7 separate regions of the Homo sapiens genome follow, and all the other regions are linked to region 1. Evidence: promoter capture Hi-C in 16 types of primary human blood cells and fetal thymus (Javierre and others, 2016). All regions are on one chromosome and are shown on one strand. Each heading gives the region's core, a stretch centred on a gene start or on the middle of the fragment in contact. The rest is flanking DNA. Distances are from core to core; before and after follow the strand shown. Region 1 holds the start of CENPE (centromere protein E). Region 2 overlaps SLC39A8 (solute carrier family 39 member 8). Region 3 overlaps NFKB1-AS1 (NFKB1 antisense RNA 1). Region 4 has its middle 51 kb from the start of LINC02503. Region 5 has its middle 41 kb from the start of SLC39A8. Region 6 overlaps NFKB1-AS1 (NFKB1 antisense RNA 1). Region 7 has its middle 32 kb from the start of LINC02503.

Region 1 (3,419 bases), core at 380-2,879:
TTTTCTTTACTGTTCTTATCTATAAACTAGTTTCTTTAAATTGAAAGAAACTACTTTCATCTAACTCAGTCTACCATCTAACTCAGTCCTCACTCTGCAAGGAAATTAGGCATATTCTGTGTATCTTTCCAAAAATTATGTATGTATATCCAGACATATTCTGTGTACATAACCGTGCACCTTGAATTTCTCTTAATAAATGAAACATCTTGGATAGCTTTCTAAAGTACACATAAAAAGCTAGGCCAGGCACGATGGCTCATGCTTGTAATCCCAGCACTTTGGGAGGCCAAGGCAAGGAGGATTGCTTGAGCCTAGGAGTTCAAGACCTGCCTAGGCAACACTGTGAGACCCCACTCCCTACCCTAATCCCCCCACCACCCCGTCTCTACAAAAAAATTTAAAAATTATCTGGGCTTGTGATGTGCCTGTAATCCAAGCTACTCAGGAGGTTAAGGTGGGAACCCCACTTGGGCTGAGGCCAGGAGTTGAGCCTGCAGTGAGCTGTGTTCAGCCTACTGCACTCTAGCCTAGGTGACAAAGCAAGAACTCATGTTTATTTAAAAAAAAAAAAAAAAAAAAAAGAGAGAGAGAGAAGAAAGGGAAAATAAGCATTATTTTTGGGAAAAAATCACTGTATTTAGAATAGCTTTCCCTCTTAGTTAATAAAAGTAACAAACCAGGCCAGGAGCGGTGGCTCACGCCTTTAATCCCAGCACTTTTGGAGACCGAGGCAAGTGGATCACCTGAGGTCAGGACTTTGAGACCAGCCTTGCCAACATGGCGAAGCCCCGTCTCTACTAAAAATACAAAAATTACCTGGGCGTGGTGGCGGGCACCTTGTAATCCCAGCTACTGGGGAGGCTGAGGCAGGAGAATCACTTGAATGCAGGAGGTGGAGGCTGCAATGAGCAGAGATAAGCACCACTGCACTCCAGCCTGGGGTGACAGAGCGAGACTCCGTTTCCAAAAAAAAGAAGAAAAAAAAAGTATCAACCCATTACTCAATGAGTTTTTCAGTCCTCGGTATTTATTTTCCCTAATTCAACCTCTGAGGAAGCCACAGCTAATGGAAACGAGTTACAGAGAGAGAGAAACAGGAGAAAAGCCTAAACTCAGATTTTCTAAGGCGCACAACAGGCTTGTCACGTTTCTGGACTGGACAGCGAATTTCAACTCTTGCTGTTGAAAGTTTATTTTAAACTGTTGGTGCAGTTTCTTTAAAAGACGGCAATTCTGTTTGGGTAGTGAAAAATACATGTATCTCTACCTAGTTTCGTCTACAGGTTCCAAACTTTTTAAGGATGGGGTGGAGGATGACGTTCGCTAGCTTTTGGCAGATAATAGTATTCTGGTATTCCAGGACCACCACTCTCTGCCCACTCCTGGGAGCCCCTCCCTTCGGCCCTCTCCTCCGACTCTCTGCTGGGCCCTTTAAATCCCCTCTCCTGTTTAGCAGTGGTCACGCCGCCCGCCTTGCGTCCCCCGCGCTGCTCCGCACGTGGAATGGCCCATGACGTCACGAGGCCACGGCTCAATCAGATGCGGCGTTTGGGAAATTTTAAATTTAAAGGCGGGGCGGCCTGTGAGCCCTGAAGTGCCGGCCGCGGAGGGTCCTGGCCATTTTCCTGGGACCAGTTCAGCCTGATAGGATGGCGGAGGAAGGAGCCGTGGCCGTCTGCGTGCGAGTGCGGCCGCTGAACAGCAGGTAGGGGGGCCACACCACGGCCCGGTGCCCGCTGGGCCTGCGGCGCCGCCCTGAGCCGGAGGGGCGAGGCCTACGATGTTTCCAGGAGCCGCTGCTTCCCGGCTCTGCTGTCTAGTGACTCGGCTGCTGGCCATCGTTTCAGGGTCTGTAAAGTGACAGGGGAGGATCGGAGATCTAGAAGATACTTTCCAGCTGCGAGATTCACTTAAATTTAACTCAGTCTCGCTGACATACAGACCTTCCCTTCTGTGCTGCTCTGCCTTGCGGCATCTGCTCCTCCCTGCCCCATTCCCCGCCTAGAGAAGTCGTATGGGACCGTGCCTTCCTGGCCCTCATCACAGTTAGTCATTTTACACCTAACTGCTGTCTCCAGACCCTCTGAAGACAAGGGCTAGTCTGTCTTGTCACATTACATTCAATCGTCACTCAAGATCATTCTACAAATATTTATCAATTTTTTTTTAGTGACTTTGTACAACACAGACACTCCCGTCATTGCCCAGTGGCTCTTCCATTCTAATGGGACGAGACAGAAAGTAAAGTTGAAAATGTAGGATGTTAAGTGGTGATATGTAGGTAATAAGTGCTAGGGAGAAAAAGCAGGAAGAGGAATAAATGAAATCGGTTTGCTTCACTAGCTTCTGGCCCTCGACCCGAAATGCTAACACTTTGTGTGTGTGAGAAATTTTTATTGAACACGGGGTTTAATAAATGCAAATACCAAGATCAGGAATTTCCTATTTTTGAGGAGCTCATTATCTAATGCCTTAAACGGCTACATAAAGAAACCATTAGGATACCTTTTGACAAGTGTTATGATGGGCAGGTAGAGAATGTTTGCTAGAGGAGTTATTAGCCCATCAGAGACGAAAGCTTCCCGTGGGGTGAACTGGTGTCAGAAAAGTCTTGACGCTTTTCATGAGTGAAATAATCCCTATGTTACTTAATGGAAAGGGAAGTCAGAGTATTCCAGGCACAGAGAGGTTACATCTGTCATTTGGGGAAGACCTTCAGGTAGAGCTTAGGATGTATCTAGGAATTCAGAGGAAAATGGAAGAGAGAAATGACATGATCTAGGACTCGTGCCCTGCTGAGGATTTCATAAGTTTCCAAAAGGTTTTAAGAATTTTAAGCAAGACAGACATAATCAGAGTTGCATTTTGAATCCATCCCTTTGTTTACCAGTACTGGGGGAGAGGGTGAGAATGAAAGCCTTCACAAGAAAACACTTTTGAGGCGGCAGAAGGTCACTGAAGCTCCATTTAAGAGTTGAATCCTCAAAGATGGACTTTCTGTCATTCTCTTATGTTACTATCTTTCAAAATATTCTTTAGCAGGTGAAATCTTTTCAATTATTCCTCCTATGACATGACTTTTATGACTGGTTAAAATGCGGTGTTTTTATTCTTTTAGAGAAGAATCACTTGGAGAAACTGCCCAAGTTTACTGGAAAACTGACAATAATGTCATTTATCAAGTTGATGGAAGTAAATCCTTCAATTTTGGTAAGCTTATAATAGCATCAAAAGTTACCTTGTTATCCTTTTGCTATTAAAAGTACAAAAGGCTTATCAATAATATTAGATTTGTCACTAAAGATTAGACTAAGCCTTCTATAAACTGCTTCACTGGAAACAAAATTGTTTATCCATCATGTATTTAAGTAAGGTAACCAATTGGCATTTAAAACAGTTATAATCACAGTTATCTA
Region 2 (3,175 bases), core at 489-2,988, 860 kb after region 1:
CAATCCTGTATTTCTTGGTGCTTGTGCAATTATAACATATTATATATTGCAATTATATTATAACATGTAAATTATTTTATATGTATTACAGTTTTCTGCTTATGTGGCTATAACCCCTGCTGCCTCTCTCTACCCTCCAAAAGATTTTTAACAAGTTGAAGGGCATGGTCTGACTCCTCTCTCTAGAGACTAGTGTAGTGCCTGGTTTATAACATGTATTCATTATAATTTTTTTGAATAGATGGGTGAAGATGGTTTAAGATGAGTTTGATAATTTGAGTCCTCACATGACTTTACAGTCTATTGGAGGAGACATGACATATGCACATATAATTATAATGCACGAAACAGTGATATGCCTGATTAAGGAACTAACCCATTTATGCCTGAGGTTGCAATTTTTTGAATTTTTGCAATCAGACCTTGGCAATGACCTTGAGCAGTGGGATATAAATAACTCCCACATGCTTAGTGTTTCAATAATGGAACACTAGGAATAAATGTGTTTAAAAACCAATGTGAGATAAGACCTGTGTTTTCAGAACATTAATCTGACATGAGAGTGTGGAATGTATTGGAGTGGGTCAAGGTGGGAGCTAAGGAGCCATCTGCAGTGGATTTCATGAGATGTAAGGACCACTTGAATTTGGAGAAACTCAGAAGGTAATATAAAGGCTCTGCCTTCAGAGACTTCAAGAAGAGCAGGCATGGCTGAAGAGTATGCAAAAGGCCCCAAAGATAAGCCTTTTCTATTTCAATATTTTGCCTGTAATCATTATTTATTTAAGTATTGCTAGATCTCTTCCTTCATTATCTTCTGACCCTGTGATGCCAGAAGGAGAAAGAATAACTCCGGGCTCATATTAATGGATGGCCAGGCTAGTGGTATGTAGCAAAAAGGAGTGTATGTATGTGTGTGGATACTGCAAACATGTTTTTTGCATTGCCTGTTGTCATCTACTGCACTTTTTCCTGGGGTGGGGGTAATGATGGGTTAGATGAGGGTGTTTCTGGGAAGCACTGACTATGGACAGAAGAGATAAAGAACATTTGTTCTTTTTTTTTTTTCCCCTTTATGTGCTGAGAAATGGTGGGGGTAAACCTTCTAGGAATGCCTTCTAACCTGCTTGTTCAGGTGAGAAACTGGAAGGGCAGGACAGAGGGTGAGGTTACCTAGGTCTCTTGTTAAGAATCCTCCAAGACAATGGCCCCATTCTGATCTATTAGATCACTCTCACATAAGTTGATTGTGTACAGTGTGTTGATTGTATTTCAAGGCTTTGGGAAAATGAGGGACATTCGTAATTCATTTGACTGTGATGTCAAGAGCTTAGTTTGCCTTGATGCCAGGTGTGATTGGGATCCATTAGGAAAATGCTTTTCATTCCTTTCATATCTAACTCCCAAAATCACATCTTTACCCACTATTCTAGGAGTCATATGAACCCTTTTATATGTAATGTAATAATTATAGCTAGGATTTATTAATCTTTTACTGTGTGGCATTACTCCCTTAACCAATTTATTTGTATTATCATGTTTCATACTCATACCAACTCTATGATAAAGGTCCCATTATTATCTTCATTTTATGTGTAAGAAAAATGTGGCACAGAGAGGTTAAGTAACTGGACCAACGTCACGAAGTAAGTGGTAGAACCTCAGGCAGTCTTACACACTATGCTATAGTGCATTTTTTGAATTACAATCTAGAAAACCATACTTTCTCTAGCTAGAGCAACCATGACCTTAGATTTTGAACTACAGGGAGAAGTTACTAGTCATCGACTGCCTATCTGGTTACATTGCTTAGTCACATTAAGGAAATGGTACTAGAGCTGTGGAGGCTACGATGATGATGACTTGTCTTTGTCCTCAGAGACCTTATAATTAAGAAATAAGATGGAGGCTGGGCGCGGTGGCTAACGCCTGTAATCCCAGCACTTTGGGAGGCTGAGGGGGGCAGATCACAAGGTCAGGAGATCGAGACCATCCTGGTTAACATGGTGAAACCCCATCTCTACTAAAAATACAAAAAATTAGCCGGGAGTAGTGGTGGGTGCCTGTAGTCCCAGCTACTCAGGAGGCTGAGGCAGGAGAATGGCGTGAACCCGGGAGGCAGAGCTTGCAGTGAGCCGAGATGGCGCCACTGCACTCCAGCCTGGGTGACAAAGTAAGACTCCGTCTCGAAAAAAAAAAAAAAAAAGAAATAAGATGGAAACTGTGAAAAGTGACTATGGAAGGCAAAGCTGCAGTAATCACGAAAGCAGACATTGTAAAACATATCACAAGGCCATATATGATTGTCACATGGATACTAGAAAACATCTGCTACTAGTTTAGAAAGGTGAGGGATTTTTTGGGGTTGGAAATGCCTCATGGAAAAGTTATAACTCAGTCAATTTGGCTTATCTGGTTTGGTTTTTAAAAAATTTATTGATTGAACTCTTGCTTATACCAAATGTGATGAATTTTCATGTGAATTACATGAATTCTTTTTTAGAGGATGAAATTTTCTTTTATTGTTTCATATATAATGAATTTTTTTAAGGGACTATATTTTGAGCAACAATAGTACTTTCTTCTATGGATAGACTTCAGGCATGTCTAGTATGAAACCTTTCAGTTCATTTCTCACTTTTATGCTAGAAGTTTTCGGCCAATGAATCCACTGTCTCTTCTGGCGGTTTAGAATGGAAATCTTCCCTTATGATGCCTCTGAAGCAATTGCATTCTTAACTGCACAACACTGGAGAAAGTGGTTTGTGCATAGGTGTTGGGGAATGAGTTGAAGCAAGGAGGGAAGAGTAGGTGAGCCGAGCCAAGTACTTCAACAGAATCACTGACTCTTAACTATAGGTAAGACAGTGCTGCTAGGAGGCAGTTTGAGCTTTCTCACACAGTTATCAGGTGAACTTTCCATAATTGGGATAGATCTTTCTCTCTAGGGATGTTCCCTAGGGTTGTTCTCTCATCTGGGTGGGAGATTTGCAGCTGTTATGCTTTCCATGATTTATTCTTATCTTGGGATATATTGAGGGGCAGGGACTTAGTTTTCTGCTTTCTAGTCATAAAAACCTATTACTTTTCAACCATAATAATTGTTTAAAGGTGTTTTCTTTAAATTTAATATACTTTTGATTCTTTTTTTTTTTTTTTGAGAAAAGTGAATTCC
Region 3 (3,253 bases), core at 696-3,195, 770 kb after region 1:
TTCCAAGAGCTTAATCCAGAGTAATACAAGTTTACTTGTTTTGCTTAGCTTTCTTTATCATCCTCTTTGGCTTCTATTCCAAATCTTCATCATTTCCTCAACATTTAACTGCCAATGTTCTCAGTAAACCACCTTGTTAATCTGCTTTTTTTTCTTTTTTTTTTTTTTTTTTGAGATGGAGTCTCGCTGTGTCGCCAGGCTGCAGTGCAGTGACGCGATCTTGGCTAACTGCAACCTCCGCCTTCCGGGTTCAAGCGATTCTCCTGCCTCAGGCTCCCAAAAACCACCTTGTTTCTTACTTGAGAAAGTTACAGTCATCCATCAATTGTCCACCCTGCCCAGCACTTACTAATATATAGACACTTTCTTAACTCCTTTCCACATATTTGGAGGATGATGTGTCCTTCTAGCACAAAGCCAAGCCCTCTCCTGGAGCCCTTGATTCCATTTCTTTCCTCCCCATCTCCATTCCTGGAATGTTGCTTCATCAGTCATTCCCACTCTGTTCTTATCTTCCACCTTAGCCCTTCTGTTGGCTCCAATCCTGAGTCCATACACCCCAAATCTTTCTCATCCTTAAAAAATGAACAAACGAAATACCCCAAAACAACAAAAAATAAATTCTCATGACCACAAAACAAAACAAACACAGCAAACAGAAAGTCAGCCCTTTCTTGACCACAAATTCTCTTTTGTCTTTCATTCCATCTTTTTTCTTCCTTTTTGTCCATGAGTTGCCACTGCTTTTCCACTCCCTTTTCACTCCTTAACTGACTGATCTCTAATTTTCTCTCCCATCACTAGACTAATACAATTCGTGAATGTTGCCAATGATCATTTTAACTCATCTTATTGGCCCTACTTGCCAAATTTGGGAAAATTGGTCACAGCCTCTTCTTGAAACTGTTTGATGTTTGCCGCTTTCTGATAATCTCTTCTTGGTCTTCTCCTAATCTGCTCATTTCATAATTTTTTTTTTCCTGTTTGATTCTCAGATTTTCCCTCTTCCCCTTGTACATCAAAAAATTTTAAACCCAGGTTCTTTAGTGATCCACAGGCCTCCTGAAATTCTGTGCAAAAATTTGGGTCTTTGATTATGTGTAATTTTCTAATAAGAAAGTCCATAGTTTACAGCTATTCTCAAAAGCATTAATTTCTCTCCAAAAGTGTAATAACCATTGTTCTATGTGGTCTTGCAAGGCAATCTTGGCAATTAATTTAGTTTTTTAAACAACTGACATATATCAAGAGCATACTAAGCAAAAGTATAGTAATTTTCTTAAGTAACCCTCAATTAGGTATGATAATCTTCACTTTACAAATCAGAAAATGGAGGCATAGAGAGGTGACTTGGCCTAGGAGACATAGCAGGTAGGTAGCTGTTATAGTTTTAATTGTCTTTTATTTGCTGATGATTCTCAAACCTGTATCACCAGCCCATATCCTCCAAGCTTCAGATTCATGAATAACTCAGTAAGTCATTTCTGGGGATACTCTATGGGGTATCAAACTCAGCATTTTTAACACTGAGCTTATTAACTTCTTGCCCCAACCTGTTTCTTCTGTATTCTCCATTCAGGGCCCATGCTACGGGAGTCATCTTGACTGTTTTCCTTTGTCTCCTACATTCAACCAATTTTCAGTCCTATTGAATTTAAATTCAAATTATAACTGTTTCTGCTAAGATACTAATCACCTTTTACCTGGTCTTATGTAACAGCGTCCTACCTATCTGAAATCCTTTGATGACACAGCATTTCATGGTGACTGAATAAATGGGCTATAAGGCCTTTGAAATATAATCCCAAGCCTGGCTGTCTCTTTACAACCTTCTCCAGCCTCTCCCTTCCCGTAACTTATACTTCAGCCACATCGCATGCCTGGATTGATCCAGGGATAAAAATCTAAACTATTTGTTGGGCTGGGTAGACTTTATCTCCTTGAATTATGAATTAATTATGGATTCTCTATGAATATTATTTCTTACGTCTTTTGATAAAAGCTGGGTAGTGACTGTCAGGTATTTTATTATCTGAAAAATGCCTTAGAGCAATTATTTGGTGTTATGATTGAAGCACATGTATTATAAAGCTAATATACTTCAAAAAGTATGTATTTTAGAGATCAATTGAGCAAAGAGAAAAAGGTTAATGTCCCCTTATGAAAATTAAGGTGCCTAAGCTAGACTTTGTCTTGAATAGACATTGGCCTACCTCTGCATGGAGAAGGCCTAGGAGCACTATAGACAGTTAATAGATTTTTCTCAGAATACAATTCTGGGTCTGCTCCAGGATAGGGGCAGATCAATCAACAAAGTTCCAAAGGTCTACACTGTAGACCGTGGCTTTGGCAATTTTAGCCTGGAAGATTTTCAAAGCAGAATTACCCCGAGAAAAATCTCAGAAATCCATCTGAGAAATGTCTGAGTTTGAAAGCTTCTCAGTGAACCCTCTAGAGAAAATTACTTGTGAAATGTGCCCCTTACTAATAAAAATGACTGACATGCTGTTTGGAGTTGTTTGATATAAACCAATTAAACCTTGGAGAATATTTGCCAAAACTGTGAATTTGTGTTTAGAGATAGTTGACCTTATGCAAACTGTTTTTTTTGTTGTTGGTTACCTGGTAGCAAAATTGTGTATTGAGTCCAGTACTACCATGGATTTTTTTTTTTTTTCGCAAGGGGAATTCTACTTGAGTTATGAAGTTGAGTGTGGTTTCTTTCAGCTTCTGATAGTCTCAATGAGATTGCTGCTAATTGGGTATTTGTTTACAGGTTTTAACAAACTGTAACTGTTAGAATTTTTCCATGCATTTATCCAAAAGAGGCAGATAATTTAAATAAGTACTCAGGGGCTACCTAATTTTTCACTTACTAGCTATGTACCAAAACATGGTGTGTTAGAGGAGCTCTCAGTGGCTCAACATGTATATAATGAATTGTGCCTCGATCACTTATAAAATGGCCCCTCTTGTCTATCAATAACCTCACACCTTCTTTGTTGAAATTTCAAATTCCAGTTTTGTGGGTACATAGTAGGTGTATGTACACAAATGTTCACAGCAGCAGTATTAATAATAGCCAAAAAAGTGGAAACAACCCAAATGTCATCAAGCGGTGAAAAGATTAAACAAGGTGATATATCTATAAAATTAAAAACTAGCAATAAAAAGGAACAGATTGCTGGGCACGGTAGCTCATGCCTGTAACCCCAGCACTTTGGGAGGCTGAGGCGGGCAGATCACCTGGGGT
Region 4 (3,572 bases), core at 53-2,552, 710 kb before region 1:
AAGGAATAAAGTGTTTCCAAATAACTGCATCTCAGAACAAGGCTGAAAAATACACACACACACACACACACACACACACACACACACATATTTTCCATTAAATAAGGTAAAATTAACAATGTCTGACATCCAGTAAAAAATTATAAGGTAGGCTAGGCGTGGTGACTCACGCTTGTAATCCCAGCACTTTGGGAGGCTGGGGTGGGCGGATCACCTGAAGTTGGAGTTCGAGACCAGCCTGACCAACATGGTGAAACCTTGTCTCTACTAAAAATACAAAATTAGCAGGGCGTGGTGGCTCATGCCTGTAATCCCAGCTACTCAGAAGGCTGAGGCGGGAGAATCGCTTGAACCCGGGAGGTGGAGGTTGTGGTGAGCCAAGATCGCGCCATTGCACTCCCGCCTGGGCAAGAGCAAAACCATCTCAAAAAAAAAAAGAAAGAAAGAAAAGTTACCAGGTATACGAAGAATCAGAGACACAACCCAAAAATGAGTTGAAAAAATCAACTATTTTGAACTAACTAGGCTTACATGGATTCAAAATTAGCAGGCAATATTAAATAACTGTATTCTATATGTTCAAAACCTTCAATGTCTAAGATAAGAAAATACACTAACTGCTATTAACAAGATAAGACATTTCAAATAACTATAACATACTGAATGATAAATGATTTCTCATGTGAAAAAAGCATTTGCCATATCTTTAATGAACTTCATCATTAATGATGAAGTAATTGAACACTGTGATTGTTCAATTATTCATCATTATTTTTCATTATTGATCATTAATGATGAATTATTGAAATGTGTCCTCCAGAGATAATAGGAAGATGATGCCTGAAATAATTTCTATTCAGCACTTTAGTAGAGGTTTTAGTGCAAAAAGCCAAAATAAAAAATTGAATGAATGAATGAGGAGACAGATACAGATAATGAATAGAATGGTATTTGAAAAAGAGAATAGTATAGATATAAGTATAGATGATACAGATATAGATGATACAGATTTAATCATCCACCTGAATGCAAAAATAAATTATGGTTCTATATGGAAGCAACAAATGAAAAACTCTAAACAGAGAAAAAAGGTAGTATTTATCTCACACATAAAAAATATTGGGCCGGGCATGGTGGTGGCTCACACCTCTAATACCAGCACTTTGGGAGGCCAAGGTGGGTGGATCACCCGAGATCAAGAGTTCAAGAGTGGCCTGGCCAACATGCTGAAACCCCATCTCTACTAAAAATACAAAAACTGGCCAGGTGTGGTGGTAGGCACCTGTAATCCCAGCTACTCGGGAGGCTGGGGCAGGAGAATCACTTGAGCCCGGGAGGCGGAGGCTGCAGTGAGCTGCAATAGCAGCCCAACCACTGCACTCTTGCCTGGGCAACAGAGTGAAACTCCGTCTCAAAAAAAAAAAAAAAAAATTATAAATCTAACAAGACATCTTCAAAACATTTACACTAAAATCTATAAAATAATATTTAGTACAATTAGATAAGTAAATTTAAAGTGATGCCCTTTTGTGGACAGAAAGTCTCAATATCATAAAAATGTTTATTTTCTCAAACTGAGTGATGTCACAGTCCATTTGTACTCCTATAACAAAATACTGGAAACTGGGTGATTTATAAACAACAGAGATTTATGTTCTCACTGTTCTGAAGGGTAGAAAGTCCAAGACCAAGGCGCCAGCAGGTTGGTTGACTGGAGAGGGCTATTAATTGCTTCCAAGATGACACCTTATTATAGCTGCATCCTCTAGAGGGAAAGAATGCTGTGTCCTCACATGGCAGAGGAGACAGAAGGGGTTCAAAAGGAGCCAACTTTCTCAATCAAGCCCTTTTATCATGGCATTAACCCACCCATGGGGGCCAGGACCTTATGATCTAAATAACTTTCAAAGACCCTGACTTCCAAGACTATTGCATTGGGAATGGAGTTTCCATCACATGAATTTTGGGGGACACACTTAGACCATAGCCATTGATAAATTCAGTACACTATCACTAAAGTTTCTAGGGAACATGAGTGTTTAGATTGTAAAAATTATCAATATATAACTTATCAAGAGAAAACAAGGCACAAGGCTATCAATCATACCAATGAAACGTAATAGAAAGTAAAGAAAGAAACACACTCACATATACCTGCATCTGATTTAGGACTGTACAAACCTAGCATCTATTCAATAAATGGTGCCAGGTAAATTGGTTATTTATATGGAAAATAATAAACTTCTAATGGATTATACATATGTGACAGGTAAATTAATTAATGCTTCTAGAAGAAACAAGAGGGTAATAATTATCTTGAGGTAGGTAAAACATTCTTAAACATTACACCAAAATCTCTTTTAGTAAAAGTAAAATGAAAACTAGATATAGTAATAAATTTTATTTATAGAAGTGACAGTAAAAATGGGGTGAAAAATTTCCAAAGAATAGGATATATACATCTGACATTTTTTCCCCAAATGCATAAAAGTTGGTAAAGAAAAGATGTAACCTCCTTACCCTCAATTGATAAAAATCTTTACCAGACATTTCACACAAAATGATATTCAAATGGTAAGTAGGCATGTGAAAAGTTGCTCAACATTATAAATCAACATAGAAATACAAATGAAAATACAAGCAACTACACACCCACCAGAACAGCTACAGTGAAAAAGGCAGACAATACAAGTTTCAGTGAAATGTGACACAGTTGAAACTTAAAATATACTGATGTGGTGTACATTTATTTAACCTCCTTGGAAAACAGTTTGGTAGTATCTGCTAAAGTTTTGTATGTAACAAGGAATTCACAAGTCCATGTCTACTTATACACATGAAAAATTCATATTCATAAATACATTTCCCCAAAGACATGAACAAAATTGCTGATAGCATTTATTACTTATTACTCAAAGTGATGGAACAACAACCATGTAAAAACTAAAATAAAGCTAGATAATGCTGATATATTTATATATGGAACACTCGATATTGCAAAGATAGTAAGTCTCTCTAAATCTAAAAGTCCTACTTTAAATTTAACTCTATATTTAGGAAACTCTAAAACTTCTAAAATTTATGAAGAAGAATTAAAGCCAAGTAAAATTTAACAGATAAAAATTAGGAGAGGATCTTGACTAAATACATATTAAAATACTATAAAGTGGTAGTAATTTAAAGAGAATAGTACTGATATAGAAATCTAAAATATAGAAATTTAAGAGAGTAGAAGTTCAGAAAAAGACTTTTGTATACATAGGTATATGTTGTGTAAAAAAAAGTAATATAATGGAAAAACAAAAGACAGATTAATATTGAGATAATTGGCTATTCATTTTAGAAAAAAATGTCAAAAACAGACTTCATAAAATAGAATAAATCCCAGAAAGGTTAAAAATCTAACTTTAAAGCTACATAGGCTTCTTATGTCTGCTAATGGGTGTCACAATTATTAGAACAATTTTAGTGATGAAAAAAATAAACAGGCTGGATAAACTATTAAAATATCTTAGCACCAAAAGACTAAAATATCTACTGAGATCAAAATATACTAAATTCAATTAAAGAGG
Region 5 (3,121 bases), core at 140-2,639, 810 kb after region 1:
GAAGGACATGGGAAGGGGGCTGAGACTTGAAGGATTCAGGGACTGATAAGATGCCGTGAAGATGAGGCAAGGGAGCCATTTCAAGCTAAAGAGTGGGAGGAGGATGGTTTGAGCAGAGATCTGGTGCAGAAAAGAGAAGAATGCCTGGAGGCAAGTTGGGTAACTGCAGGAGATAAGGTTTGGCAAGGTAAAAATGGGCCAGATGGTTGAGGGCTAGGCACAGGAATTCAGATTTTTGTCTTGCACAGATTTCAGAGTTTGAATTAGGAAATAATTTGACTTAGAGACTGTAAACACCCAGAAAAATGTAAGAGACAGCAGTTATGTAGGCTTTGTGATTATTGTAGAACTTCAGAACGGAAATGAATAATCTGACCTATGTGGACAGTGATGGGGATGGAAAAGCAGGGATGCATGTTAGTGAAGTTGCACAAGAGGAATCAAAAGCATTTGGTAACATGATCTAGGGGTGAGGGGCAGGTAACTTTCAAACTTTTTGATGATGATCATAACAAGAAATGCATTTATATATTTTGCTTATAATTACATATACATATATATGTTGTACATTTATAAAAAACGGAAATGAAAATTCTAAAAAAAAGTTTACGCTTACTCTAATTGATGTACATTGATATTTGTTTCCTTCCATTCTATTAAAAAATAAACTGATATTAATCCATGAAAATGATTTTATGAACCATGAGTGAGTTGTTATTTGAACACAATGTTTGTAGGGGTATAATTTAAAGGATACCAGAAAATTGTCCTTCTCCAAGATTTCTTACTGATTTTGCATTTCCAGAATTGGAAATTGAAATTTTGGTCCTGTGTTAAAGCAAATCTCTTTGGAAAGGCATAAACTTTGCAACCTTTTACCTTACAGTGAGCAATTTATTATCTTTCCTGGAAATCATGTTACGTTAGAGCAGACAATAGGGAAAATATGGAAGCCTGAGATGTTTGTCTGAAAGGTTGCGAAAGGCAAGACGGTGTTGAGACAGAAATGTTGTCCTCTTTAAAATTTTATATAGAAGTTACTACAATAAGTACAAGACAAAATTAATATTCACTCATTCATTCTCACTTAATCACAAGATAAAATTAATATTCACTCATTCATTCTCACTTAATCTTAGCCAAAAAACTGAGAAGCAATAATATTCATTCTCTGAATGAGGAAGAAAGACTTGAAGGAAGGTGGAACAAGGATTGGCAAACAGGATAGTAAGCCATTGTTTCTCAGCCATGAGGAGAAGATGCTAACCAGTACATCTGGAAGGTGAAGAACAGGAGAAGGAGAGGTTTGGAATAACCAGGAATAGGAATAGAGGGAGAAGGTGGGAGTGTAACTGTCTCAGGAGAGCGTTATATGTCAATGTATCATGTCAATGAGCCATGATAAAAGTGACTCTAGTCCTCAGGTTTAGGCAAGTTGCTTAGTCTGGGTCCTCTATCTTTTGTTGTGAAGACTCGATTTCACTAGAGTAACTGTCCAAACAAACCAACACACAGAGAATTAGGAAAATGGGTTCCTAATTCATCTGTGGTATTGTCAGGAGAATAGGAGAGTCAGGCAGTTAGTGTTCTTCTAGTGGTTCCAAGGATTAGAGGAAAATCATATTGGAGAAAGGGCATAGGGCACATGCCTTAATTTATGTGTATGGAGAAGGATGCTCTCTGGATGGCTGTGATAATCCCAGGTATCTCACGTTTTCAGCTTCAATTTGGTGTGTGGTCTGCATCTCCATGATTTTGTCTGGGCTGAGGGGTCAGTCGTGAACACTTCAGGGTTATTTTGCACCAGGCCGCTTAGTCCTATCTAGAATATGGCAAATCACTCTTAGATCTAAGATATCAATTTAGCAGAAACAGCAGTCAGTGAGTGAAGTCAAATAATTTCAATGGTGCACAATGGATGTATTAAATTTTATCATAGCACTAACCTCTTCTATCAATTGTGTAAGATTACTTTTCTCTTGAAAGACCAGTACCCTTAGAAGAAAGATCAATCTTCTCTTATTAATGCCTCTCTTAAACAGAGGCATTAAACTTACATATTTGCAACTTCTGCTTAACATTTATAATTAAGAATTCCTCCTTAATTTGGAGTAAATTATATAGAACTAGAATAAAAGATGAGTTCCCTTTGCCAATTTATAGAGCAGGAGCTGGATAAAAGGATGCGGCCATGCTGTTTTCTTCTCAGAGCTACATCTGCTCCAGTGCCTGAGGAGATGCCCAAGGCACAGTTCAAAGTCTCTATTTCTAATCTCTAGTGAGAGTTTGATAGGAAGAATGTGGACTTATCCTTCCTTGTCCTGAAATTGAGAGGAAGAGAGGGATGTGTGTGACTCCCCTCCCCGTGTTCAGGGACTTTGCCATCAAAGCCTTGCATTATTCCAGGAGTCCCCACTTGCTTTAGTTCGATGGAAAGAGAATTTAGCTGGATGGAGGAATCAGGAATTCCCCCTGAATATTGTGTGCCAAGGAAATCTTTTTTGTTTCCAGTAATCATAAAATAACCCATAACACCCAGATGGGTCTGATTCCTGGACCTCAACACAAATGTCCCCTCATTCTCTACTCTCTTTCAGATATAAAGGTAAATGCTATCTAAGCCACAGTAACCTTGAGATACTGTGGGCCTGGGGCAGAGAAGAGCATCTGTAGAAGAGGCAGTGGACCACAGTACTGGATCTGGAAGTTCTGAGCCTTTACTTGTTGAGGAGCAGTGAGTACCTATTTGGGATTTCTGGTGAGTAACATCACCTGCCTCCTCTGACAGAACTCCATTATCATGTCATTGATTTCTCAGTGAACCATACTCTAAAGGTATTACTAGGAGAATCTGGTCTGTGAACATATGCTCATAGTTCTGTGTCATAGGAACAGGTATAAGAATTTCAAGGAAATAAGCATATCAAATGGTCACTGTGGAAGACTAATTCGCTGTCTACATTGAGTTAGCATTTGCACATTTCACATGACTCCACACCCATGATAAATGATGAAGAACAACAATAGGAAGCATGCAACCAGCCAACTGCTCTGAGGGCCCAGAAGGGCTGACTTTGGGAAACTGACTCTCCATCCTTTGGAAAACAAGGCTGAAGGGTCC
Region 6 (3,246 bases), core at 78-2,577, 700 kb after region 1:
CAGGCAGCACGGAGGCGGCGGCGGTGGCAGTGCCGCTGATAGAGTCATGCGGTCCATAGCCCCTAAGGGCAGGCCCGAGCAGCTGGAGGGTCGGCATGGATCCAAGCATGCCAGATATAAAAATAAAGCTCATCTGTATATTCCATTTAAGCGTGTCTCAGTTACATTCACATCTCTTCACAGATTAAACTACAATTTCGTTATCATAAACGACTTGTGCCCAGTAAAGTATAACCCTCTACTGGTTTTTGGTGCGGTCTTAAATCTCCTGGTTATAGAGCAGTTACTCAGAATGTTCATCTACAAGGCATTGTTAGGCCTTTATGATAATTACTGTGGATAGAATTATAGTGATGGTGGTAGCAATGGTTTTGGTTCACAGCTCATAAAATACTGATCTGGCAGAGGGGAGTTTTCTTTTTCTCTGAAGAGACCGCTACTGGCACCCACTGACAGGCCTCCCAGTGGCCACCATTCACTGGCATCTGAGCTGCTTTAGTGCTGGGCACTGTATTAGGTACAGGCTGGGGATACCTTCGGGTGGATTACCTCCCCACATAAGAAAGCTTGAGCCGAAATATATATTTTAGAGCTCATTGTTTCACTACTGGGTGGAGTGACAACTGAAAGCTTAGCTTTAAAACATCAGTAATCAGGTCCTCACCAGGCAATATTGCAGTGGCATTTAGATTGCTTATGGCATGTTCATCCTAGTCCTTTCGTGCCCACTCTCCATCCTCCTCCTCCAGTAGGTTATAAAAACCTTCTTGGTGGAGTGTTTTTCTGGAAAAAAAAAATAAACAAAAAAAACCCACACACACAAAAACCCAGCGATCCATTTGATTGCCTATGAGGTGAGTCTCCGAGGCGACCTTGGAGGCCCCAACAGTCGACCTTTAAGTGATCTCATTTAGCTCCGGGAGGCTGAGCAGCTGGAATTTAGAGGATCCATAAAGACTGAACACAATGACTTTTTAAGAAATTCTGTGAGCCGGGTGCGGTGGCTCACACCTGTAATCCCAGCACTTTGGGAGGCCAAGGCGGGTGGATCCCCTGAGGTCAGGAGTTTGAGACCAGCCTGACCAATATGGTGAAACCCCATCTCTACTAACAATACAAAAAAATTAGCCGGGCGTGGTGGCGGGCGCCTGTAATCCCAGCTACTCCAGAGGCTGAGGCAGGAGAATCGCTTGAACCCTGGAGGCAGAGGTTGCAGTGAGCCAAGATTGCGCCACTGCACTCCAGCCTGGGCGAGACAGAGCGATACTCTGAGAAAGAAAGAAAGAGAGAGGGAGGGAGAGAGGGAGGGAGGGAGGGAGGTGTGAGCATACACACTCTACTTTTCATTCTGCAAGGGGTGGCAGCCCCATTACCAAAAGATAGATAAATACAATTGTTATAAGAGTAGAGCCAGTGTGACATATTTGGGAGTAAAAAATGAAGAGCGTTAATTACTGAAAAGGATTAAATCAAACTCCAAACTCAAAATGATTCCATAAAATGAACTTAAAATTCAGGGTAGGGTGTTGAGCAGGCATATTTTCCTGGGGCTGCTGTAAAAATTTACCACCGACTGAACAGCTTACAACGGGAATTTATTCTGTCACAGTCCTGGAGCCTAAAATTCTGAACTCAAGGTGCCATTAAGGCCATGATCCCTCTGAAGGCTCTAGGGAAGAATCCTTTGCCTCCTCCTAGCTTCTGGTAGCTCCAGCAATCCTTGCCATTCTTGGCTTGGCTGCAACACTCCATTCTGTGCCTACATTGTCACATGGTCTCCTTCCCCGTGTTTCCTTTGTGTCGCTATATTCAACTCTCCCTCACCTTTCTTTTATGAAGACACCAGTCATTGGATTTAGAGCCCACCCCAATCCAGTATTACCTCATCTTAACTTGATAACATTTGCAAAGATCCTAGTTCCAAATAAACTCATGTTCACAGGTACCTGTGGTTAGGACTTGAACATATGTTTTGGGGGGATGTAATTCCATGCAGCACAGCAGGCAAAACTATAAAAGCTTTTTGGCTTGCTGATTAACCCTCCTCCATTCCTGCTTTGTTACCCAACATTTTCTCTACACTGTACAAACCTGCTTCCAGGAATATCTCTTACAAATTCATCCATCCTAAGGTGTCAGAAGGTATTTGCCATTATCAGGCTACGAAGAGGAAAAAAATGCCTCAATGTGGAATTTCAGACATCAATATTGTCTAAAAGACAAGTTATTTTGTGTTTGTCACTTGTCTTAGTTCATTTGTGTTGCTATGGCAGAATACACAAGACTAGGTAGCTTATAATGAAAAGAGGTTTATTAGGCTCACAGTCTTCAGACTGTACAAGAAGCATGGCACCAGCATATGCGTCTGGTGAGGGCCTCAGGCTGCTTCCACTCAATGGAAGGCAAAGGCGGGTGGTGTGTGCAGAGAGATCGTATGGCGAGAGAGAGGGGAGAGATGCCAAACTTTTTAGCAACCAGCTCTCATAGGAACTAATGCAGTGAGAACTCACTCATCCTCTCCTCCTTGCAGGGAATAGCATCAATCTATTTGTGAGGGATCCACCTCCATGACCGAAACATCTCCCATTAGGCCCCACCTCCAAAATTGGGGTCACATTTCAACATGAGGTTTAGAGGAGACAAATACCCAAACCATAGCATCACTAAATCATTGAAACTACACAAATTTCCCTTCTCATGAAGCTATTTTGGAAATACCAGTGTGGAGAGAATTCTGAGGTTGAGATCTGTGTAGTGTGTTCATTGGCAATGAGAACATAGGAAAAGTATGTCTTCTTTTTAATTGCCTCTGAGTAAAGGTGACACAACACTTCTGCCCACATTCCATGGCCCCACTTAGATGCAAGAGAGCAGGGAACTACAGTTCTTCTGGTTGGTTAGGAGGTTGAAATAGGTCGGCTAAGCATATGGTTAATACCTGCTATACACGTATTCACTTATTTGGTTGTCAGTCATATAAAGTGGATCACCATTATAATCCCCATATTTACAGATGAAAAGTTGAATAATTTTCCTAAGGTTTCATAATTAGTAAATAGAAGGAGAGTCAGGATTTGAACCTAACAGATTTGGCTCCAGTGTGCATGATATTAACCACCACACTAAACTATTATCCAATGATATAAAAAGGAGCATGTAAGAGATTTTTAGAAGATGAGGTCAACAGGACCTGTTTATAGATTATATATGCAGTTTGAGTGAGAGGAAGACTCATAGATAGCTCTG
Region 7 (3,449 bases), core at 275-2,774, 730 kb before region 1:
AATTGATATAATAATTAGATAAAAATTAGTAAAATATAAAAATACTGGAAGAAAACTATTAACTAAGCTCAAAGTTCAATCAGGACCTACAACAACATAGTGGGGAAGAAAATGAGAGACAGAATAGCTGCATAGAAGGGATCACTAGGGAGACTGGCTTAGCAGGGAAGTCTGGAGATGGCTGGGAGCAAAGAAGGGAAGATCCTATCTGTATTAGTCATGTGGTGAGTGCCATCGCAGGCCCCAGAGACCTGCTATGTAAAGAACTCCAGTAGCATTTTGTATATTAGACAACAGTGCCACCACCACAATGAGGACGCCCATGAGCCAGAACAGGTGCCGCATTGTCTTCTGTGAGGAAAAAAAAAAAAAGGTATCAGGATGTCCAGAGCAGCCTTGACCACTAAAAAGCTCAAAAACCTTCATCACTGCTATGGACAATCATGGCCGTGGCTCTTGAGGACCCGTGGAATCTTTATTGATGCTGACCTCAGTTAATAGAGCTGCATGGACACTACACTGCTGAGGCCTCCCCCAGAATAAGAGCCACCACATCCCACCCAATACTGGAGAGTGATCAATAGGTCTCGAGTAGATATCAAAGGAGCAATTGAAATGTATCTTGAGATAAATGAAAATGAAAACATCATACCAAAACTTACGGGATACTGCTTATGGGAAGCATTTCTAAGAGGGAAGTTTATGGTATAAATGCCTACAAGAAGAAAAAAAGGCAAATCTCAAATAAACATTCTAACTTTATACCTCAAGGGACTAGTTAAAGAAGAATAAAGTAAGTCCAAGGTTAGCAGAAGGAGAAAAATAACAGAGATAAGAGTAGAAATAAATTAAATAAAGACAGAATAATGATGGAAAAGATCAACCAAACTAAAAGTGGTTTCTTAAAAAGATAAACAAAAATAAAGAATCTTTAGCTAAACTAATGAAAAGGTAAGAAGACTCAAATAAGAAGTGATAAAAGTGACATTATGATATTTCAAAATACAAAGCATTACAAGAGACTACTATGAGCAATTATACACTAAGAAATTGGATAACCTAGAAAAAATGGATAAATTCCTAGAAACATATAAAACTGAAAAGACTGAATCATGGTGAAATAGAAAACCCAATGTCTGGGTGCGGTGGCTCACGCCTGTAATCCCAGCATTTTGGGAGGCTGAGGCGGGCGGATCACCTGAGGTCAGGAGTTCGAGACCAGTATGGCCAACCTAATGAAACCCCATCTCTACTAAAAATACCTAAATAATTAGCCGGGTGTGGTGGCGTGCTTGTAATCCCAGCTACTTGGGAGGCTGAGGCAGGGAGGGGAAGGTTGCGGTGAGCCGAGTCACGCCACTGCACTCCAGACTGGGTGACAGAGCAAGACTCCAACTCAAACAAAAAAAAAAAAGAAAGAAATAGAAAATCTAGATAGACCAACTAATAACTAGTACGAAGATTACGTCAGTTAAAACAATTCTAACAATGAAAAGCTCAGATCCAGATGACTTCATAGGTATATTCTAGCAAACTTTTTTTTATAAAAGTATTAATACCAATTCTTCTCAAACTCTTAACAAAAAGTTGAAGGAGAGAGCCCTTCCAAATTTATTCTATTGTCCATTCAGTATGATGTTGGGTGTGAGTTTTTCATAGATGGCTCTTACTATTTTGAGATATATTTCTTTAATACCTAGATTGTTGAGGGTTTTTAATATGAAGCGATGTTTAGTTTTGTTGAAAGCCTTTTCTGAATCTATTGAAATGATCTTGTGGCTTTTGTTTTTAGTTCTGTTTATGTGGTAAATAACATTTACTGATTTGCATGTGTGCTGAACCAACCTTGCATCCGAGGGATACAACATACTTGGTTGTAGTGGATTAGCTTTTTGATGTGCTATTGGATTTAATTTGCTGGTATTTTGTTGAGAATTTTTGCATGTTAATCAAGGATATTGTCCTAAAGTTTTTGTATTTTGTTGTGTCTCTGCCAGGTTTTTGATTCTGGATGATCCTGGACTCATAAAATGAATTAGGAATGAATCCCTCCTCCTCAATTTTTTTGTAATAGTTTCAGTAGGAATGATATCAGCTCTTCCTTATACATCTGGTAGAATTTGTGAATCCATCTGGTCCTGGGCTATTTCTGGTTGGTAGGCTTTTTATTATTGATTCAATGTTGCAACTCCTTATTGGTCTGTTCTGAGAGTCAACCTCATAGGTATATCATCCCACAGCCTTCTGGTGTTCATTGCTTTTGATGAGATACGAGCTGTGAATTTTATCCCAGATTACTTATACTTGGGGAGTTGCTTCTCTTTATTCTTCCTGGATTTCCTCTTTGTTTTTGACTTTCAACAGTTTGACTATAATATGTCTTGGTGTAGATCATTTTGTGTTTATTCTACTAAAGATGTATTTAGCTTCTCAGATTCATGTCTTCACAAGGAAAGTTTTCAGGCATTATTTCTTCAAATATTCTTTCTGCTTTATTTTTTCTCTGTCTCTCCTCCTGTGCTACTTCAATTATGTGCATGTTGGTACACATGATGGGATGTCCCACGGATCTCTTAGTTTCTGTTTATTTTTCTATTTTTGTTTGTTTCTGTTCCACAGTCAGATAGTCACAATTAACTTATTCCACACTCACTGATTCATACTTTCACTTCCTCAAATATGTTGTTGAATCCCTTGATTAAATTCTTCATTTTAGTTATTTTACGTTTAATTACAATTTCCATTTGGTTCTACATTTATTAGGTTTCTTTCTATAATTTCTACTTACAAAATCTGTATTATCCTCTATGTATTAGTCCATTCTCACACTGCTATAGAGAACTGCCTGAGACTGCGTAATTTATAAACGAAAGAGGTTTACTTGACTAGTACTGCATGACTGGAGGGTCCTCAGGAAACTTACAGTCATGGCAGAAGGAGAAACAAACACATCCTTCTTCACGTGGTGGCAGGAGAGAAAAGTACCTGCAGGGGTACACATAAAACCATCAGATCTCATGAGAACTCACTACCGCGAGAACAGTAGGGGGAAACCACCCCCATGATTCAATTCCCTCCTACTGGGTCCCTCCAAAATACATGAGGATTATGGGGAGTACAATTCAAAATGAGATTTGGCTGGGGACCAAGCCAAATTAGCATTCTACCTGGTTAAACATCATTCTAATGGTTTTATTTAGTTCTTTGTACATGTTCCTTGAGCTTATTGAACATATTTAATGTAGTTCATTTAAACTCTTTTTATCCTATGTGTGGGCAATAAATTTTTTTATTTCTATACCTCGTATTTTGTCTTCATAACTGGACCTTTTAAATATTATAATTTGGCAGCTTTGGAAATCAGATTCTTCTCCCTCTTCAGGGTTTGTGGTTGCTGCTGCTTGTGTTCTTGTTAGTTGGTGACTTTTTTTCTTTTTTTTGAGATGGAG

The links. Contacts are between HindIII fragments. The CHiCAGO score rates a contact against its expected background, and 5 or more counts as called.
Region 2: a contact is called between a fragment that was not itself captured here and the fragment with the promoter of CENPE in region 1, in 2 of 17 cell types (non-activated CD4 T cells and naive CD8 T cells). The highest score is 8.0, in non-activated CD4 T cells.
Region 3: a contact is called between a fragment that was not itself captured here and the fragment with the promoter of CENPE in region 1, in 2 of 17 cell types (naive CD4 T cells and total B cells). The highest score is 5.3, in naive CD4 T cells.
Region 4: a contact is called between a fragment that was not itself captured here and the fragment with the promoter of CENPE in region 1, in 1 of 17 cell types (endothelial precursors). The highest score is 7.9, in endothelial precursors.
Region 5: a contact is called between a fragment that was not itself captured here and the fragment with the promoter of CENPE in region 1, in 1 of 17 cell types (neutrophils). The highest score is 5.5, in neutrophils.
Region 6: a contact is called between a fragment that was not itself captured here and the fragment with the promoter of CENPE in region 1, in 3 of 17 cell types (fetal thymus, total B cells and monocytes). The highest score is 9.1, in fetal thymus.
Region 7: a fragment that was not itself captured here is called in contact with the fragment with the promoter of CENPE in region 1 in 2 of 17 cell types (megakaryocytes and erythroblasts); the score reaches 13.2 in megakaryocytes.

Annotation. Positions count from the first base shown.
Region 1 is chr4:103,196,553-103,199,971 of GRCh38, reverse strand. CENPE (centromere protein E) reads left to right here and starts at 1,629. Exons shown (of 49, transcript NM_001813.3): 1 at 1,629-1,708; 2 at 3,122-3,213. The coding sequence starts at 1,653. RefSeq lists an enhancer at 1,213-1,767. The HindIII fragment of the contact is 3,749 bases long and covers 1-2,583 here.
Region 2 is chr4:102,337,218-102,340,392 of GRCh38, reverse strand. The region is part of intron 2 of SLC39A8 (solute carrier family 39 member 8); the gene reads left to right. Among named protein-coding and RNA genes, the nearest start is that of SLC39A8, 6.7 kb to the left of the region's middle. The HindIII fragment of the contact is 4,591 bases long and covers 1-3,175 here.
Region 3 is chr4:102,426,851-102,430,103 of GRCh38, reverse strand. The region is part of intron 2 of NFKB1-AS1 (NFKB1 antisense RNA 1); the gene reads left to right. Among named protein-coding and RNA genes, the nearest start is that of NFKB1, 73 kb to the left of the region's middle. The HindIII fragment of the contact is 984 bases long and covers 1,454-2,437 here.
Region 4 is chr4:103,908,518-103,912,089 of GRCh38, reverse strand. No RefSeq gene overlaps it. Among named protein-coding and RNA genes, the nearest start is that of LINC02503, 51 kb to the left of the region's middle. The HindIII fragment of the contact is 5,904 bases long and covers 1-3,572 here.
Region 5 is chr4:102,384,987-102,388,107 of GRCh38, reverse strand. No RefSeq gene overlaps it. Among named protein-coding and RNA genes, the nearest start is that of SLC39A8, 41 kb to the right of the region's middle. The HindIII fragment of the contact is 4,429 bases long and covers 1-3,121 here.
Region 6 is chr4:102,497,740-102,500,985 of GRCh38, reverse strand. All of the region lies in intron 1 of NFKB1-AS1 (NFKB1 antisense RNA 1), which reads left to right. Among named protein-coding and RNA genes, the nearest start is that of NFKB1, 2.0 kb to the left of the region's middle. The HindIII fragment of the contact is 1,389 bases long and covers 633-2,021 here.
Region 7 is chr4:103,927,745-103,931,193 of GRCh38, reverse strand. No RefSeq gene overlaps it. Among named protein-coding and RNA genes, the nearest start is that of LINC02503, 32 kb to the left of the region's middle. The HindIII fragment of the contact is 4,781 bases long and covers 1-3,449 here.